Regions from separate parts of the Homo sapiens genome. Here region 1 is linked to region 2. The links are contacts of gene promoters, found by promoter capture Hi-C in blood cells and fetal thymus (Javierre and others, 2016). All regions are on one chromosome and are shown on one strand. Each heading gives the region's core, a stretch centred on a gene start or on the middle of the fragment in contact. The rest is flanking DNA. Distances are from core to core; before and after follow the strand shown.

Evidence for each region. The method cuts DNA at HindIII sites, captures the fragments that hold promoters and counts their contacts. A CHiCAGO score of 5 or more calls a contact.
Region 1: a contact is called between a fragment that was not itself captured here and the fragment with the promoter of CAMTA2 in region 2, in 1 of 17 cell types (total B cells). The highest score is 5.0, in total B cells.

The regions. Positions count from the first base shown.
Region 1 is chr17:5,358,934-5,361,942 of GRCh38, reverse strand. It overlaps RABEP1 (rabaptin, RAB GTPase binding effector protein 1), which reads right to left. Exons shown (of 18, transcript NM_004703.6): 9 at 268-735. It overlaps LOC105371505 (a long non-coding RNA gene), which reads left to right. Exons shown (of 2, transcript XR_934178.3): 1 at 1-258; 2 at 859-1,336. Among named protein-coding and RNA genes, the nearest start is that of NUP88, 59 kb to the left of the region's middle. RefSeq lists an enhancer at 1-61. The HindIII fragment of the contact is 1,820 bases long and covers 572-2,391 here.
Region 2 is chr17:4,986,036-4,989,115 of GRCh38, reverse strand. It overlaps CAMTA2 (calmodulin binding transcription activator 2), which reads left to right and starts at 1,441. Exons shown (of 23, transcript NM_015099.4): 1 at 1,441-1,523; 2 at 2,830-2,924. The coding sequence starts at 2,894. It overlaps INCA1 (inhibitor of CDK, cyclin A1 interacting protein 1), which reads left to right. Exons shown (of 7, transcript NM_001394789.1): 6 at 172-337; 7 at 562-986. The coding sequence ends at 711. CAMTA2-AS1 (CAMTA2 antisense RNA 1) reads right to left here and starts at 1,372. Exons shown (of 3, transcript NR_187235.1): 1 at 891-1,372; 2 at 524-700; 3 at 1-429. RefSeq lists a silencer at 1,422-1,961. The HindIII fragment of the contact is 15,391 bases long and covers 492-3,080 here.

The sequences.
Region 1 (3,009 bases), core at 232-2,731, 370 kb before region 2:
GATTGCTCCAACCTGAGAGCTGTGAGTTCAGGTGGGGAGGTTCACATTCACTGTGATTAACTAGCTAGCTCCTTTCTCTGTCACAATTACCTGGAATACCCAAGGCAGACTATGACAAGGGTCAGGTGACACACGTTAATATCCACTTGCTGGCAACATGTGCCTGCACTGACTCCAGGAACCGTCTGTTGAATGAACGCTAAATCCCAGAGCTTCCCAGTGTGCCTCAGCGTGAGCAAGAGGAAAAACGTGAGAAAGGTAACTCACCTCTTTCTGCAAGAGATTCCATTCTGTTTCACTAACTAAACGATAACCACTAGGGGACACATAGGCACTCTCCATGCCCTGGGTAACGCTGGAGAGGAGGGACGCTGTCTCTTCTTGTTCTGGTGTCATCGCCTTGATTGCTCTTTCCTGATCTTTGGTTAACATAAACCCACTTGGCATCTGGAGTGACCCAAGGGATGCAGTATCAAAGTTCTCAGACACTGAATCTGCTCCTACCAGTGGTCCAAAATCTGACTCGTCCAGGTTTCCAGCAGATTTTGCTTTGTAGTTATAGCCTAAAGCTTTGGATTGCAATGAGCCCGAGGTTCCCAAGCTGTCTGTAGACTGTGCTCTCCTGAGTCCATCTTTAAACATGTCATTGTCCGATTTACTGAAAGGATCTCCAGATGGCAACAGCAAGCCTGCATCTAAGGAATGAACTGAGCCACGGGTGCTGTCTAAATGCTCCTGAAATGTGAAAATACATATGGCCAAGTTAGACAATTCTCTGCGTTTTTAAAGACAAAAACTATAATAAATGTATTCCGCCACTCATTACACATGATAATCATTAATGTGCTACCTTCACAGACTCATTGAACAAACACTAAGTGTCATTTCTACATGCTGGACACAAAACCAGGCCCTCAGGATACAACTGTGAGCAAGATATAATCCCTGACCTCGAGATACATACGGCTTCAAAAAAAAAAAAGATAAGTAAGCAGACTGTTATAATACTGTGATAAAAGGATGGGCTGGAGCTATGTGCTGAATGCTCTGGTAGCTCAAAGAGCTCCCAAATACGAACAGTTGAGGAACGTCACCTGCAATTCAGTGTGGCGTGTGTCAAGCGCGAGGTGCCTATCATGAATCCAAGCAGAGATATTCCCTTGACAGAGGGACACAGAAGTCTTTCGATAGAGACTTGAGAGTAACTATCGTATAATGATAATTAAAGTCACAGCAGCAAATCAGAACACGTAGGATGAGTGTGTAGGCAAAGAGGGCCAAGGGCAGAACCCTGAGAAAGATTAACATCTTGGGGATGAGCAAAGGAGAAGCCAGAGTAGTGGAAAGGAAATGACGAGAACGTAGTATTTTCTTTTTTTCTGAGACGGAGTCTCGCTCTGTCGCCCAGGCTGGAGTGCAGTGGCGCGATCTCCGCTCACTGCAAGCTCCGCCTCCCGGGCTCACGCCATTCTCCTGCCTCAGCCTCCCAAGTAGCTGGGACTACAGGTGCCCGCCACCTCGCCCGGCTAATGTTTTCTATTTTTAGTAGAGATGGGGTTTCACCATGTTGGCCAGGATGGTCTCGCTCTCCTGACCTCGTGATCCCCCGACCTCAGCCTCCCAAAGTGCTGGGATTACAGGCGTGAGCCACCGCACCCGGCCCAAGAATGTGGTATTTTCCAGCAAGGTGTAATCAACATGTTCAATGTTGTATACTATGCGAAAGCAGATGCAAAAAGTCACATATTATGTAATTCCATCTATTTAAAATGTCCAGAACAAGTAAATCCATAGAGCCATAAAGCAAGTTAGTGGTTACTAGAGGCTAGGGCAAAGGGAAAATGGCGAGTGACTCTAATGGGTTATGAGGTCTCCTTTGGGAGTGATAAAAATGTTTTCAAACTAAAAACATTTGTGTATATATGCAATGCCACTGAATTGTACACTTTAAATTTTATGTTACATGAATTTTATCTCAATTTTTAAACAACGTGGTACAGCACATTCCTGAAGGCAAAAAGCAAACCAGTGCCATTACATGAAGCAGTTGCATAGTTAGTGGGAAATAAGAAAAATGATTTAAAGAAAAATGTAACAAGTTTTCCTTCCAACTAAATTTATTCCATTTAAATGACAATGTTTTAAGATAATATCCTTTCTACGTTTTGTTGTTAAACGCCCTGTTTTAAATGAACCAGAGGAGACTGTGGAATACAGTTGTTGTTACTGGCAAGCTCATGTAACCTATTTTTTTTAATGTTTTAAAAATATTCTTGGTGTAATAAAAAGGTGACAAATTTTGAGTTAATGCCTCCATTTCTTTCCTTTTAAAGATTGTTACTCATCTGAAACTGCAATGGCTAAGAACACAAATCTCGTATATATTAAGCTTACTATGGCAAAGATCCCAAGTAAGTATCCTAATAAAAACTGGGATAAGCCATTCTGTTAGTTTACAAATAACCCTAACACCCACTGCTATGTATCATATACAGTGCTGCTGTGATACTGAAGAGGGAAGGGGCTAGGGATAGAACAGTTGTGAGGGCCATTTGAAAAACATCAGACTGGCTGGGCGCAGTGGCTCACACCCGTAATCCCAGCACTTTGGGAGGCCGAGGCGGGCAGATCACAAGGTCAGGAGATCAAGACCATTCTGGCTAGCATGGTGAAACCCCGTCTCTATTAAAAATTACAAAAAATTAGCCAGGCGTGGTGGCAGGTGCCTGTAGTCCCAGCTACTTGGGAGGCTGAGGAAGGAGAATGGCGTGAACCCGGGAGGCGGAGCTTGCAGTGAGCCGAGATCACACCACTGCACTCCAGCCTGGGCAACAGAGCGAGACTCCGTCTCAAAAAAAAAAAAAGAAAACATCAGACTACAGGCCTGGCGCAGTAGCTCACGCCTGTAAATCCAACACTTTGGGAGGCTGAGGTGGGAGGATAGGTTGAGCCCAGGAGTACAAGACCAGCCTGGGCAACATAGAGAGAACTCCTTTCTACAAAAAAATT
Region 2 (3,080 bases), core at 192-2,691:
ACAATATGCTTCAGTCTGAGGGGAGCAGAAAATTGGGAGTGGAGGGTTAAAGGTCAAATGACAACTCCCTGGAGTCCCAGCAGGAAGTATTTCAGAACAGAAAGGTGAAGAATGGAGAGACAGGAAGCCTGGCCTCCAGGCACTTCTCTCCTCAGCCTAAAGTCTCCACAGACTGAAGAAGGCCCAGTGGGGCAGCTCTGGGGCTGCATCTGAGCCAGTGGTGCTTGGCGAAGAGGGCTGTGGATTCCCCAGCACCAATGAATACCCTGATCTGGAAGAGGAGAGAGCAACCTATCCACAGGAAGAGGACCGTTTTCTCACTCCTGGCAGGGCCCAGGTATTGTTGGAGTGGAACTGGGTGGAGTGAGGGAGTGATGTGGGTCTCTGGTCTTGCATGGAGATGCAGAAGCTGAGAGCCAGGCTGGAGAGCTGGATTTGAGAGAAACAAAAATAACGTAGGTGAGAACCAGAGACTTCGAGGTACCTAAGCTTGGGTACTAGGAAATCTGGAAAGAAGACCTACTTTTCCATTTTCTTTTTCAATTTCTCTCATCTTGACAGCTGCTTTGGTCTCCCTGGAGCCCCCTGGATCAGGAGGAGGCTTGTGCCTCCAGGCAGCTGCACTCTCTGGCCTCGTTCAGCACTGTCACAGCCAGAAGGAACCCCCTTCACAATCCCTGGGGGATGGAGTTGGCAGCGTCTGAAGAGTAAGGAGAAACCACCGATGCCGAGAGGCTAGTGGTGCCCCAGGGACCCAAGACTAGTTCCGTCACTAGAGTCACCCTCATTGCTGACATGAAGGCGTTTCCCCTTCCTTCGTCTCTCCAACTGCCTTTCCCATCCTCTGAACTAGGCATTAACAGCCCCCGTGGGCTCCCATCTCAACCCACCGCTCTCACAGGAGCACCCCAAGTCCTGTTTTCCTCCAGGCCCCGCTCCTGGCCTTGTATTCTCTCTGCTCTGTTATTAAAAAGCAAGCAAGTGGAGCCCGAGTTGTCTTTCTTCTTGGGATGCAGCGATGGAGAGGCCAATGGGGAAGGAGGGCTCCTTTCGCTTTCTCGAGGACCCAGCTACAATGAAGTCGGGCTGGGTCCCCAGACAAGGAGTCTTGTCCGAGGCGAGAAGGGTCCTGCTCCCAGTCCAGCGTTCCTCGCCCGGCCCCTCGGGTTCCAGCACTGGTGGGCTGCCCCCGCCCCGTTCTCTCGAACTGGGAGTCAGTCGGCCGAGCTTCCGCCTCCAGGACCCTGGAATCCTGCCCCTCAGTGCTGCTGCCCTTTTGGGGACTTCCCAGCAGTCTGTCCCTCGGCCTGGCTCAGAGCCCTAGAAGCCGAGTCCCTCTGCCCAGCGCCCCACCCAGAACTCCACGTGTGCTGACCCCAGGTTCCCTTCCTGACCCTCATCCCCTTAATTGGGAGGCCCCGCCCCGTGCGCAGTGACGTTAGACGCCGCTGTCAGCCGGCGCTGGGGGGGGTCGGTGTGGGGTAGAATGGCCGCTGCCGCCGTCACCCGCGGGACCCCGGGAGGTAAGAGCCAGGGCCTCTCGCCCGCCTCTCCGCCCCCGCGCCAGAGGGCGCAGCTCCTCCAGGTCCCGACGCGGAGCGCCGCGCCAGGGACCACCGTCCCTCTTCCCGGTTCGCCCTCACCTCCCGCTTCCGTCCTCCTCCCCCGCGCCAGGGGGCGCCGCTCACCGCAGGGCCCCACGGCGGACCAGCGCGTGCCGGGGACTGTCCCGGAGACCCCCGCACCCGGCACCTGCACTGTCCCTCGCCCACCGCGTGCCCGCGGACTCTGCTCCCGGCTTCTCCAGAACATCCCTCTATGCGGGCGGGACCCTCCCACCTCGGAGGTTCTCCTGGGACCACCACTCCGCCGGGGGGCCGCCCAGAGTGCCAAGCGTCCGATCCGGCGCCGCCCAAGTGCAGCCCAAGGACCCGCTCCCGCTCCGCACCCTGGCAGGCTGCCTAGCCAGGACTGCGCACCTGCGCCCTGGGGCGGAGTCCTTACCCCAACCCCAGCTTCACTGCACATAGCCGAGCCCGACGGGCCTCCTCCCATCTCCATCCTGGACACCTGGCGGAGCCCGTGCTGAGAGCCTCCGCCAGCTCCCATCTGTTCCCCGAGGAGGGCGGGGGGCTCAGGCTGGAGCCAGAGCGGTAGATGGGGTAGGCTAGGCCTGGAGGCCAGGGGAGGCAGAGGCGTTTGGGGAGAGGGAGCTACGTAGAGAGGGCTGTCAGCCGGAGGGTGGGTTGTCCTGAGGGTGGGAATCTGGGTGTCTGGCCCAGATTCTATCAGGTCCTAACCAACCTGGAGGAGAGAATAGGTTAGGTTCAGTTATCAGATCTGCCCTTCCCCTTGGAAAAATCAAACAGAGAAGGAACTCAGGGCGTGTCTTCTAAAGGCCTAGCTTCTACCGGAGGTAGAATCTCCTGCCCTGCCCCCAGGATCCAGGCTCTCTTGCCAAACCATCCTCCAAGGACCGGATGGCCTGAGTCCCAACCCCCAGGACCTGACCCAACCATAGCCCCAGTCTGTGCAAAAGCTCAAGGTTTAGGGCCTCTGAGGCCCAAGCCCTGCCAGTCTTCTCCCCGCTCCCCCACCCCAACCCATTTCTTCCTGCTCACTCTTCCTGTCCAGTCTGCTCACTCATATTGGCTCCGGGCACTGTGTGTTGTTCTCTCTTCTACTGTCACATCACAGTCAGCCCCTCCCTCCCTTTCCTCATCCTTCCCAGATACTATGACCCAGTTCTATACCCACTCCCTACCTCATACTTCTCATCCTGGATTAATGTGGGGGCTTCTGCCATGACCTTGTTCTCTCCCTTCCCAGCACAGACTCCCCCTCCCCCCGGCCCCTCAGGCCGGGGGTGACCTTGCCCCCTGGAGCCCTCACCATGAATACCAAGGACACCACCGAGGTTGCTGGTAAGTTCACAAACCAGGTTCCCAATGTGGCCACAGCCTTTCGTTCTCCCCACGCTTTAGTGGCCCTCTAATTCTTGGATTTTCTGTTCTCCTTAGTGAGGTTTCAGTTTTCCCCAGTGCTCTGTATTGCCTTCAGCCCTTTCCCCTTGGACTATC